Linked DNA regions of Homo sapiens: region 2 is linked to region 1. Evidence: promoter capture Hi-C in human tissues and cell types (Jung and others, 2019). All regions are on one chromosome and are shown on one strand. The core of a region is centred on a gene start or on the middle of the fragment in contact, and the rest is flanking DNA. Distances in the headings are between cores, read along the strand shown. Region 1 holds the start of OOSP1 (oocyte secreted protein 1). Region 2 has its middle 26 kb from the start of OOSP4A.

Evidence for each region. Contacts are between HindIII fragments. The study calls those that stand out against the background at their distance.
Region 2: a contact is called between a fragment that was not itself captured here and the fragment with the promoter of OOSP1 in region 1, in 1 of the 25 tissues and cell types used here (hippocampus).

Annotation. Positions count from the first base shown.
Region 1 is chr11:59,934,071-59,941,023 of GRCh38, forward strand. OOSP1 (oocyte secreted protein 1) reads left to right here and starts at 4,362. Exons shown (of 5, transcript NM_001395276.1): 1 at 4,362-4,460. The coding sequence starts at 4,385. The HindIII fragment of the contact is 12,909 bases long and covers 1-6,953 here.
Region 2 is chr11:59,986,262-59,992,982 of GRCh38, forward strand. No RefSeq gene overlaps it. Among named protein-coding and RNA genes, the nearest start is that of OOSP4A, 26 kb to the left of the region's middle. The HindIII fragment of the contact is 5,564 bases long and covers 2,341-6,721 here.

The DNA of each region.
Region 1 (6,953 bases), core at 3,112-5,611:
AAGATATTGACATTGATACAGTCAAGACACAGAACATTTCCATCACCACAGTGATCCATAATATGACCTTTTAAGAGCTACATCTACTTCCCTCCTGTCCCCATCCCCTCGTAAACCCTGGTAACCACTAATTTACTCTCTGTTTCCACTTTTTCATTTCAAGGATGTTATATAAATGGAATAGTATAGCATATTACCTTTTGGGATTGGCTGTTTTCACTCAGCATAATTCCATGGAGATTCATGCAGAATGTTCCAATGAAGCAATAATTTGTTCTTTTTCTTGCTAAATAGTATCCCATGGTATAGATTACTATGGTTCGTTTAGCCATTCATTTAAAAAAAGGGCATCTAGATTGTTTCCAGTATTTTGCGACTATGAATACAACTGCTAGGAATATTGGTGTACAGGCTTTTGTGTGAAAATAAATTTTCATTTATTTGAGACATGCCCCTGACATATCATTTGCTTAATAGATATCTTTGAATAATCGAATTGATAAATTGTGAGAAGAGAATAGAAAACAAAGTGTACCACATTTAGTTATTTTCATTAATATTCTAAAATACCTGTTTGTGAGAATTTACTGTTCCATTAAAGAGGTCATTAATAGGTCACATTTCTCTATAAAAACACTAATCTTATCAGCACAGTTTGTATTCTCTGTGCTGAAGATCCCCCAGAGGCACTGCAGTGAACACACAGGGATACCAGGGGATATTTTAAAAATTTCGGGGAGACAGTGAGTGATACTTGACAACTGTCAGACATGATGCAAATTACCAGCTCAAGGTAGTCCACAGTTCCACTTTGGTGGCACTACATTCTTTTCTATTAGTCCACAACTTTGTGCAACTTGGGATCTAGTGGTTGCTGTGATGAATAGCCAAAGCAGTTACTGTGGGAAAAATCCATGTGGAATAAGGAATGAAGATGGTGATGCCCAATCTGATTTCAAGAGCTGAGATGCTGTGCAGCGTCAAACAGTTATACACATATTATTCATAATTGTGGTTAAAGAATAAAATAAAAATATTTTCTTCCAATGTATGTGTTTTCAAATGGCTACTAAGTTGTCAGCACAAAAATACTGAAGTTATTTTGATGTAACAACATAATAAATGAAGCTGTTATGTATTTCTTTTCATGAAAGGATGCCATAAAAAGCAAACAAACAACAAAAGTTACTGTATCATTAAGAGAACTAGGTGAATGTTTGGGACCCTCTGCTATAACTAGTCACATATCCTAAAAATTTTCTAAGGGAAATAATTCTTTTTGTAAAAAAAAGAAAATTTGGCAAGATAGAAGTGTAATTCTCTAAACCCAAGGCAAGAAAAGAGAATGCAGATGCGTATAGGAGAATTACTCAGTATCTTCAGCCTCTGAAAGGGAAGGCTGGTTGAGCCCCGGTCCAGAGATTTATTGAGAGTGAGACTGAAGTATCCTGTTTCTCTTAGTCAGGGAGACACTTCTGTAGGCCAGACCATTGGACACCTTAGCTAGTGAGAGGATTCTTTCTTATTTTTTTCTGTCTGAATACATGTGTAAATGGGGACATAACTGCCATATTTTAGTGTTGCTAGCCATTTAGCTGAGAGTTAATTTGAATTAGTTAGGTGTCTGGGGATCCCACTGGATAGAGACAAACAAATGACACAGTTAATAGTGAATTACCAGCCCTGTACTGGTCATACTCCAGTCGAAGTAAAATGCTCAATGTGTATTTAGCCTGCTTCTATTAATTATTATATTAAATAGGTGTAAGCGAGTCTGTTGTAATTATGACTCAGATTCCAGAAGGAATAAGTAAAATGTGACCAAATAGAATCTGAAGCAAAAATTAAACAAACTTTGAGGCAAAAATACCACAAGCAAAATCAAAAGACAAATGACTGCCTAGGAGGAAAATATTTGCATCTTATATCGCGGATAAAAGGATAATCTCCCTAATATATAAAGAGCTCTAAAACAACGGAAAAGCTATAGAAATGTTCTTAAGATTATAACATTTTTAACTTCATTTATTCTTGCCAAAAAGGTTCGAGTCTAATTGTGAGGAAATAATCAGATTCTGAATGAGAGTCTTTACTCAAGATAGCTAGCCAAGACTCTTCTGAAAAGACATTTCCATACAAAACAAAAGTCATGAGGTACAACTCAATAAGATGAGAAATAACTCAATAAAAATGAATAAAATATTTGAATAGATACTTCCTTAAAAGGATATACACATGGCAGTCTGGGCTTGGTGGCTCAAGCCTATAATCTTAGCACTTTGGGAGGCTGAGGCAGGCAGATCACCTGAGGTCAGGAGTTTGAGACCATTCTGGCCAACATGGCAAAACCCTGTCTCTATGAAGAGACCCTGTCACCTCTTCAATGCTTCCATCCTCACCTTGAAAGTATTGCTCTTCCAGTGATTTAACCAGGTAATTTTTAAGATTCAAGCCACCTATTCTTTACTAGTTTATTGACGATTTGATAACAATAGTAGTTTCGCAGATTGTCAGATACACGAGGCTAAGACTGGGTGGCTGAAAGTCAGAGACATTGCCTTGTGCATCCTTAGGTACCTGTGGACAAGGTTTTGACATTCATTTGGACTGAACCTTAGCACTGTCCATCTAGATAGCAATGTATCTGAAATGTTTTAATATACCTTTAATCTCAATACACATTAAATTAAAAAAGCATAATTATTAAAATTAAAATATATTTGTGTCTTTAACACAAGTGAAATGTAAACATTTCAAAAACTTAAAAAGAGGCCATGCTCAGTGGCTCACACCAGTAATCCCAGCATTTTGGGAGGGCGAGGCAGGCAGACCACTTGAGGTCAGGAGTTCGAGACCAGCCTGGCCAACTTGGCGAAACCACATCTCTACTAAAAACACAGAAATTAGCTGGCCATAGTGGCGGGCGCCTGTAATCCTAGCTGCTTGGGAGTCTAAGCAGGAGAATCGCTAGAACCCAGGAGGCAGAGAGTGCGGGGAGCGGAGATCGTGCCATTGCATTCTAGCCTGGGTGACAAGAGCTAAACTCCATCTCAAAAAAACAAAAACAAAACAAAAACAAACAAAAATTTTTAAAAGGAACAAATGCTAACTAATTCTATTTTTTTTCTTTCTCCTGCCATCTTTTATTGGGCACCCATTTTGTGAAAGTTAGGACACACAAAAATACAGAGGAATGATCTCAACCTTTGAAGAGCTCATCATTTAATGGCATTTTAGAACTTTTAGAACAGACTAAATTTAATGATAAAATTCAGATAATATCAAGGATAGTTAAATGCATTTATATAGTCTTTTCTATTTGTTTTTGGTAAGCTCCTACTTTCCACGTTCTATTAACGTAGGACACAGTTGCTAAACTCTAATAACTGGTTATTAGCGAAAAAAATCAGAATATATTTGAACCAAACATTCATTTAGGCTTGTTTTGGTAATGAGATTTTGAATTTCTCATTTTTAAGTTGGCATCTTCTGTTTTGAAGAAAGGAATCTAAATGTGAGTAACCATTTACAGGCATTGCTACTCACAACGTAGTCTCCAGAGCAACATCCCTGCAATCTTAAAATGCAGAATCTTAGCCTTCACCCCAGACATTCCGAATTAGAATCTGCATTGTAAAGAGAGCCTCAAGTGATGTATATGCTCCTTAAAGTTTGAGAAGCAAACATCGCTGCTAATGGGCATCAACACAGCATGCACTCTGAAGGCAAAACCCTGTAGACCAGGGATTCTCAAAGTGTGGTCCCTGGGTGGTCAGTATGAGCATCGCCTGGGAACTTGTGAGAAACATCAATTCTCAGGTCCCAGCCCAGTCTTAGTGAATCAGAAAACTAAATGACACTCAGCTGTGCTTCAATAAGCTCTCCCGGTGATTCTGATATCTATTAAGTTTGAGTACCACTGTTTAGTTGGTGAAAACAGGTGAAAGTAGATGAAATCTTTCAATTCCCATGTTCTCAGGGCTTGGCCTTCTGAGATGCACAGAACAAGTAAATTATCATCCAGTTATTTCTTTCGTGTTCAGATGTGGAGACAGATGTTATAGGATATTAGGAAGTTTTAATAAAGTAAACCTTAGTGCATAAAAATAACTATATCTGATGCTTTGGACTCTAAAACAAGTGAAGCCTTCTGTTGTACTTCTATTGCACATTTTGCTTTATCTTTGCTCTTGTTTTTTGACATTTGAGTAAAAAGTGTAACATCTTAGAAAATGAAACAAAATTATATTTATGGCACGTGTGTGCTGTCCAAAGTTGTAATTAATTACCCACACCTATGTGTGGCTTCAGGCATTTTGGCATATAAGGCTATTCTCCCCAACTTCCTGTTTCCTGAGTGAGGTTTGGTTTTCAATCTGGGCAAATGAAGACCATTCTGGGGTTCAAAGGGCTCTTTTATCTGCATTCCTTGATATGGACCTGCGCTGGGGACTGGTCAGGTATAACTTATCACTTGGGGAATAGAAGTTTCTTAAAGAGAGCTGAAAGATGTGGCTTTGGATTCTTTACAGTTGTGGTCTGGTTGAATCTTAATAATAGCCAAGGACACATGGAGGGGTGGTGCCTCTTTTCGATGTGCAATCTTGAGATACCATGTTTTTCTCTTGCATACCGGCACTGAGACTAGGGAATGTGCCCTAACCTGAGACTGTCTTTCTCCAACTCCCCTTTCCTTTTGATCTTATTCTGACCATATCAATTCTTGGGGATCAAGTACTTGAAGTGGGTTTAATATAAAGAGTGTGGAGTGGCCTGGAAAACAGAGGAGTGGGTGGTGGTAGGAACTTGGGACTCTGTGGTGTGTCACATACAGGAAGAAAGCCTTATAAGGCTTAGCCTTTCTTTACCTTATACTTCATAGATCCTTTTCATTTCAGAGGGAGCAGTCAGTGCCCCCTAAGTGAGGTGAGCAGTGGTCCAGGTTTTCCCAGTACTTTTCCTGCGTCGGCCCCAAAAACCTCCTGTTCGGAGCAAACCAGAATGATTGGTAGCCCTGAGTATAAACTTGGGCTGTCAGTTTCTCTTCCTCTATTTCTGCTTCTCTTTCTCTTTTCCTTTCTTTCTCTCCTCCCTTCTTTCTTCCTTTCTTTCTCTTTCTCCCTCGTTCCCTCCTCCCTCCCTCTTTCTTTTCTTTCCCTTCCTTCCTCCTTTCCTTCTTTTCTTCCTTTCTTTTTTTTTTGGGACAAGAGTCTCGCTGTCACCGAGGCTGGAGTGCAGTGGTATGATCTGGGCTCACTACAGCCTCTGCCTCCCGGGTTCATGTGATTCTTGTGCCTCAGCCTCCCAAGTAGCTGGCACTGCAGATGTGCACCACCACATCCAGCTAATTTTTGTATTTTTAGTAGAGACGGGGTTTTACCATATTGGCCAGGCTGGTCTCAAACTCCTGGCCTCAAGTGATCTGCCCACCTCGGTCTCCCAAAGTGCTGGTATAACAGGTATGAGCCACTGTGCTGAATGCTTTTTTCTGTTTTCTTTTCTTTCTCTCCTTCTCTCTTTTTCTTTTTTTTCTTCCCTTTCTCTTCCTCTTCCCTTTCTATTACTCTTCCCTTTCTCTTCCTCTTCTTTCTCTTCCTCTTCTCTTCCTGTTCCCTCTTCCTCGTCCCTTGCTCTTCCCTTCCTCTTTCTCTTTCTCTTCTTTTTCTCTTTTTTCTTTTTCTCTTCTTTCCCCTTCTCTTTCTCATCTTTCTCTTTCTTTTCTTTTTCTCTTTCTCTTCTCTTTCTCTTCTTTCTCTTTCTTTTGTTTTCTTTCTTTCTTTGTCACTCAGGCTGGAGTGCAGTGGTGCCATCGTAGCTCACTGCAGCTGTGAACTGCTAATTAAAAAAAAATTTTTTGTAGAGACTTGCTATGTTGCCCAGGCTAGTCTCCAACTCTTGACCTCAAGGAATCCTCCCACCTTGGCTTCCCAAAGCTTTAGGATTAAAGGCGTGAGCCACTGCTTCCTGCCTGGGCTGTCAATTTCTAAGGTTAAGATTTCGGAATTGCAGTGAAAGGTTGTGTATACTTGTCAAGCTACCCGTTCAACAAGACAACCTAGACCTGACATGGGTACATGTTAGAATCTTAGTGTATTCATTATGCTTTCTTTTATTAGGAACTATTTAAAATGGATAACTAAGTTTAAAAAAGCAGGTAACTATAAGGAATAATATCAATATTCACTGACCTGCTCTTCAGCTTTATTAAATCCATAATTTGCTACATTTGCTTACATTTTATTTTCTAATAGAAGTAAAAGTTCAGGTAGAGTTGAAGTCCCTGTGGTCATTCCTGATCCTATTCTCTTCCCTCTTTGCCCATATGTGAGTTTGGTAATTATTCATTTTCCTGTGTGTTTTACAATTTTACGTCAAATTTGTGGATCTGTAAATATGTTTCGCAGGCATTTATCTTCTATTTCTATTTAATTCTACAGCTTTTTTGTTGTCCATCACTTGGAGATTTACATTTGTAGCTTTGGTATATTTTAATTACTATTTAGCAGTCCAGTGAATAAATGCATTGCAAATTGTTTCTGTTCTCACATTGATAGAATTTTTCTAGTGTGGGGCCGTTACAAATAATGTTTGTATTTGAGTGGTTTCTTTTTGTGTGTGCATATCTAGGAATGGGACTGTGAGGCCACAGGTACAGATCTGAAAAGTAACTCTCTTGCTCAATTGTTCTTTAATTCTAATTGGTGCTCACAGATGTCTTACTTTTTGCTAATGTGGATATGAATAACTGGTTTTACATTTAAGGAACGTCTTATTTTTAGGTAATTGTAGATTCACATGCAGTGTAAGAAATAATACAGAGATCAATTATACTATTTATTCAGCTTCACACAATGGTAACATCTTGCAGAAATATAATACAGTATTACATTGGGATATTAATATTGATGTAGCCAAAGGACAGACATTTCTATTGTAATCAGGATGCCACTTTT
Region 2 (6,721 bases), core at 3,873-6,372, 53 kb after region 1:
CCTTAAAGTCATCCACAAGGGTTGGAATTAACTTATCCCAAACTTCTGCTAATGTTGACATTTTGACCTTCTCTGATAAATTATAAATGTTCTTAATGGCCTCTAGAATGGTAAATCATTTACAGAAATTTTTAAATTTACTGTGCCCAGATCCATCAGAGGAAACACTATCTATGGCAGCTATAGCCTTACAAAATGTATTTCTGAAAAGACTTGAAAGCTAAAATTACTCCTTGATCCATGGACTGCAGAATGGATGTGGTGTTAGTAGGCATGAAAACAACATTAATCTCCTTGTACATCTTTATCAGAGCTCTTGATTGACTAGATGTGTTGTCAATGAATAGTAACATTTTGAAAGAAATCTTGTTTTCTGAATAGTAGCTCTCAACAGTGGGCTTAAAATGTTCTGTAAACCATGCTGTAAACAGATGTGCTGTTATCTAGGGTTTGTGGTTTTATTTATAGGGAATAAGCAGAATAGATTTGGCATAATTCTTAAGGGCCATAGGAGTTTTGGGAAGGGTAAATGTGCTTTGGTTTCAACTTAAAATTACCAGCTGCATTAGCCCCTAACAGTCAGCCTGTCCTTTGCAGCTTTGAAGGCAGGCATTGACTTCTCAATAGCTGTGGAAGTCCAAATGACATCTTCTTCCAATATAAGGGTTTTTCATCTGCGTTGAAAATCTATTTAGTGTAGCCACCTTCATCAGTAATCTTAGCTACATTTTCTGGATAACTTGCTGCAGCTTCTCAATTAGCACTTGCAACTTCACCTTGTGCTTTTATGGAGATGACTTCTTCCTTAAAGCTCATGAACCAACCTCTGCTAGCTTCAAGCTTCACTTCTGCAGCTTTCTCACCTCTCGGTCTTTATAGAGTTGAGAAGAGTTAGAGCCTTGCTCTGAATTAGGCTCTGGCATGAGGGATGTTATGGCTGGTTTGATCCAGACCACTAAAACTTTCTCTATATCAGAAATAAGGCTGTTTTGCTTTCTTGTCATTTGGGTGTTCACTGGAGTAGCACTTTTAATTTCCTTCAATAACTTTTCCTTTCATCCAAAACTTGACCGTCGGGCACAAGAGGCCTAGCTTTTGTCTTTTCTTGGCTTTTGACATGCCTTCCTCACTAAGCTTAACCATTTTTGGCTTTTGATTCAAAGTAAGAGATATGTAACTCTTCCTTTCCTGTGAACGTTTAGAGGCCATTGTAGGATTATTAACATCTTAACATTTTTGTCTCAGAGAATAGAGAGGCCTGAGAAGAGGAAGAGAGACAAGAATGGCTGGTCAGTGGAACAGTAGGAATATATACAACATTTATTAAGTGTGCTGTCTTTATGAACATGGTTCCTGGTGCTCCAAAACAACTACAATAGTAACATTAAAGATCACTGATCACAAACCACAACAGATACAATAATGAAAAACTAGAAATACTGTGAAATGATCAAAATATGACACGGAGGCATGAAGTGAGCACATGCTGTTGGAAAAATGGTACTCAACTTTCTCAATGCAGGATTGCTACATGTCTTTAGTTTGTAGAAAATGTGTTATCTGTGAAGCATGATAGAGTGAAATGCAATAAAATGAGGTATGTCTGTATTTTCAAGAGAGCTAGTACAGTCTGCAAAGACTGAAATATTCTCTGGCCAGTTTGACAACCCCTGAGCTATATTATCTCCATTTTATGAGTGGGGAAGGTAGAACCTGCTCTGAAATAATGAAACATTTAGTGAAAATTCATACTCAGAGTAAGTTGCAGAGCCTGTCCTATAATACAGGTCTGCCAAAATCAGGCCCCTACACTTAAACAAATGTGATCAGGAGTTGTCTACACATTGACAGACAACAAAATGTCTGGACATAATGTCAGGAGCTATTACTTGGGTGTTTTCTAAACATAAACATTTTATTACTTAGCTCTGTTGTCCTTTGACTTAATATAAAATAAAAATTTCTATTATTTTAAAAACTTTAACTCTTATTTTTGAACTGTTAGATTTAAGTAAAACAAGTTCATACTTTTTTTATTCTCTTGAGGAATGCCCATGGGGCATTCTTGTTGAGAGTTTCGTCAAATATCAACCAGCGTTTTTGAATTTCAGAACTTACATCCCAGTAAGATGCGCCCTTGAAAGGTAAGTCTAGCTGGCTACAGAGATTAAGGTTCTCTAACATTTGCTTGGTTGCCAGGTGTTTCCGATGAGACTAAAGATGTTAGAAAATATGCTGAGGTCCAGCCCTTAGACCTGTCTGACTGATGGACAGTGTTCTGTTCTTTTATATGAGTAGATATGTCATATAATATATGAATGTTTATATATAAAGCTGACTGTCTCAATGTATTTTATTAATAAAATGAACCTATTTGTTTCTCTGGTAGCTGACACTATTGTGGTTTTTAAAAAAATTTTAAATGTTTAATTCTTGTGGGTACATAGTAGGTGTATATATTTATGTGGTACATGAGATGTTTTGATACAGTCATGCATTGCATAATAATCACATGGAGAATGGGGGTATCCATCCCCTCAAGCATTTATCCTTTGTGTCACAATCTAATTAGTCTCCTTTGGTTATTTTTAAATCCACAATTAAGTTATTATTGACTACAGTCACTGTGTTGTGCTATCAAATTGTAGATCTTATTCATTTTTTTTCTATTTTTTTGGTATGCATTAACCAACCACCCCTCCTCCCTCTCTCAACCTACCACTACATTTTCTGGTCTTTGATAGCCATTCTTCTACTCTCTATGTCCATCGGTTCAATTGTTTTGATTTTTAGATCCTACAAATAAGTGAGAACATGCAATGTTTGTCTTTCTCTGCCTGGCTCATTTCACTTAATGACCTCCAGTTCCATCCATGTTGTTGCACATGGTAGGATCTTATTCTTTTTTTATGGCTGAATAGTACTCCATTGTGTATATGTACCACATTGCCTTTATCCATCCATCTGGATAAAGTGGACACTTAAGTTGCTTCCAAATCTTAACTATTGTGAACAATGCTGCAACAAACATGGGAGTGTATATCTCTTCAACATACTGATTTCTTTTGAGTATATACTGAGCAGTGGGATTGCTGGATCACATGGTAGCTCTATTTTTAGTTCTTTAGGGAACTTCCAAACTGTCCCCCATAGTGGTTGTACTAACTTATATTCTCACCAACAGGGTATGAGGGTTCTCTTTTCTCCACATTCTCACCAGCATTTGTTATTGCTTGTCTTTGGCAAGTACAAGCTATTTTAACTCGGGCGAGATGATATCTCATTGTATTTTTTATTTACATTTCTCTGATCTATTTCCATATGCCTGTCTGCCATTTGTATGTCATCTTTTGAGAAATGTTTATTCAAACCTTTTACCCACTTTTTCTTTTATCAGATTATTAGATTTTTTTGCCTATAAAGTTGTTTGAGTTCTTTATACATTCTGGTGATTAACCCCTCATCAGATGGGTAGTTTGTAAATACTTTCTCTCAGTCTTCGGGTTGTCTCTTTCCTTTGTTGATTGGATCCTTTGCTGTGCAGAAGCTTTGTAACTTGATGTGATCACATTTGTACAATTTTGCTTTGGTTGCCTATGCTTATAGGGCATTGCTCAAGAAATTTCTGCCCAGACCAATGCCCTGGAGATTTTCCCCAATGTTTTCTTTTAGTTTCATAGTTTGATGTTTTAGATTTAAATTTTTAATCCATTTTGATTTGATTTTTTGTATATGGCAAGAGATAGGGATCTAGTTTAATTCTTCTGCATATGGATATCCAGTTTCCCAGCACTATTTATGAAAGAGACTGTCTTTTCCCCAGTGTACATTATTGGCACAATTGTTGAAAATGAGTTCACTATAGGTGTGTGGATTTGTTTCTGGGTGCTCTATTCTGTTCCATTGATTTTTGTGTCTGTTTTTATGTCACTACCATGCTGTTTTGGTTACTATAGCTCTGTAGTATAATTTGAAGTTAGGTAATGTGATTCCTCCACTTTTGTTCTTTTTTGCTTAGGATAGCTTTGGCTATTCTGGGTCTTTTGTGGTTCTATATAAATGTTAGGATTGTTTTTCCTATTTCTGTGAAGAATGTAATTGGAATTTGGTACGGATTGCAATGAATCTGTAGATTGCTTTAGGTACTATTGATATGTTAACAGCATTGATTCTTCCAATCCATGAAAATGGAATATTTTTCCATTTTTGGGGGGTGTCCTCTTTAATTTCTTTCTCTAGTGTTTTATAATTTTCATTATAGAGATCTTTCACTTCTTTGGTTAATTCCTACATATTTAATTTTGTGTATGGCTATTGTAAATGGGATTACTTTTTAATTTATTTTTCACATTGTTTATTGCTGACATATAGAAATGCTACTGATTTAAAATTTTTTTAATTTTTAATTTTTTAATTTCAATAGGTTTTGGGAGAACAGGTGGTGTTTGGTTACATGAATAAATTCTTCAGTGATGATTTCTGAGACTTTGGTGCATCCATCACCCGAGCAGTGTACACTGTACCCAATGTGTAGTGTTTTATTCCTCACCACCCCCCACCCTTCCCCCGAGTCCTCAAAGTCCAATGTATCATTCTTATGCCTTTGCATCCTCATAGCTTAGCTCCCACATATGAATGAGAACATATGATGTTTGGTTTTTCATTCATGATTTACTTTACTTAGAATAATAGTCTTTGATTCCATTCTGGTTGCTGTGAATGCCATTATTTAATTCCTTTTTATGGCTGAGTAGTATTCCATGGCATGTATATACCACATTTTCTTTATCTCCTCGTTGATTGATGGGCATTTTGGGTTGGTTCCATATTTTTGCAATTGCAAATCATGCTGCTATAAACATGAATGTGCGAGTATCTTTTTTGTATTATGACTTTTTCTCTGGGTAGATACCTAGTAGTGGGATTGCTGAATCAAGCAGTAGATCTACTTTTACTTCTTTAAGGAATCTTCACACTATTTTTCATAGCAGTTGTACTAGTTTACATTCCCACCAACAGTGTAAACATGTTCCCTTTTTACACCATCCATGCCAACATCTATTTTTTTTGATTTTTTTGATTATGGCCATTCTTACAGAAGTGAGGTGGTATCGCATTGTGGTTTCGATCTGCATTTCTCTCATCATTGTGATGTTGAGCACTTTCCATATGCTTGTCAGTCATTTGCATATCTTCTTTTGAGAATTGTCTATTCATGTCCTTAGCCCACTTTTTGATGGGATTGTTTTTTTTCTTGCTGATTTGTTTGAGTTCCTTATAGATTCTGGATATTGGTCCTTTGTCAGATATATAGTTTGTGAAGATTTTCTCCCACTCCGGGTTGTCTGTTTACTCTGCTGATTATTTCTTTTGCTCTGCAGAAGCTTTTTAGTTTAATTAAGTCCTATCTATTTACCTTTGTTTTTGTTGTTTTTGCTTTTGGGCTCTTGGTCTTGAAGTCTTTGCCTGAGCCAATGTCTAGAAGGTTTTTTCTGATGTTATCTTCTAGAATATTTATAGTTTTTAGGTCTTAAATTTAAGGCTTTGATCTATCTTGAGTTGATTTTTGTATAAGGTGAGAGAAGAGGATCCAGTTTCATTTCTTCTACCTGTGGCTTGCTAAGTATACCAGCACCATTTATTGAATAGGGTGTCTTTTCCCCACTTTATATTTTTGTTTGTTTTGTTGAAGATCAGTTGGTGATAAGTTTTTGGCTTTATTTCTGGGTTCTTTATTCTGTTCCATTGGCTTATGTGCCTATTTTTATACCAGGACCATACTGTTTTGGTGACTATGGCCTTATAGTATAGTGTGAAGTTGGATAATGTGATGCTTCCAGATTTGTTCTTTTCACTTAGTCTTGCTTTGGCTATGCAAGCCTTTTTGTTTCCATATGAATTTTAGGATTGTTTTTTCTTGTTTTGTGAAGAAGGATGCTAGTGTTTTTATGGGAATTGCATTGAATTTGAAGATTGTTTTTGGCACTATGGTCATTTTCACAATATTGATTCTGCCCATCCATGAGGATGGGATGTGTTTTCCATCCCACTGGAAGCACTTGTTTGTGTTATCTATGATTTATTTCAGCAGTGTTTTGTAGTTTTCCTTGTAGAGGTCTTTCATGTCCTTGGCTAGGTATGTTCCTAAGTATTTTATTTTTTTTGAATCTATTGTGAAAGGGGTTGAGTTCCTGATTTCTCAGTTTGGTCGCTGTTAGTGTATAGCAGAGCTACTGATTTGTGTACATTAATTTTGTATCCTGAAACTTTGCTAAACTCGTTTACCAGTTCTAGAAGTTTTTTGGATGGCCGTTTAGGGTTTTCTAGGTTATACGATTATATCATCAGCAAACAGTCACAGTTTGACTTCCTCTTTACCGATCTGGATGCCATTTATTTCTTTCTCTTGTCTGATTGCTGTGGCTAGGACTTCCTGTACTATGTTGAATAGAAGTGGTGAAAGAGGTCATCCTTGTAGTGTTCTAGTTCTCAGGGGGAATGCTTTGCAACTTTTCCCTGTTCAGTATAATGTGGGCTGTGAGTTTGTCATAAATGGCTTTTATTACCTTAAGGTGTGTTCCTTCTATACTGATTTTGCTGAGGGTTTTAATTATAAAAGGATGCTGGATTTTGTCAAATCCTTCTTCTACACTGATTAGATGATCATGTGACTTTTGCTTCTAATTCTGTTTGTGTGGTGTACTATATTTATTGACTTGCA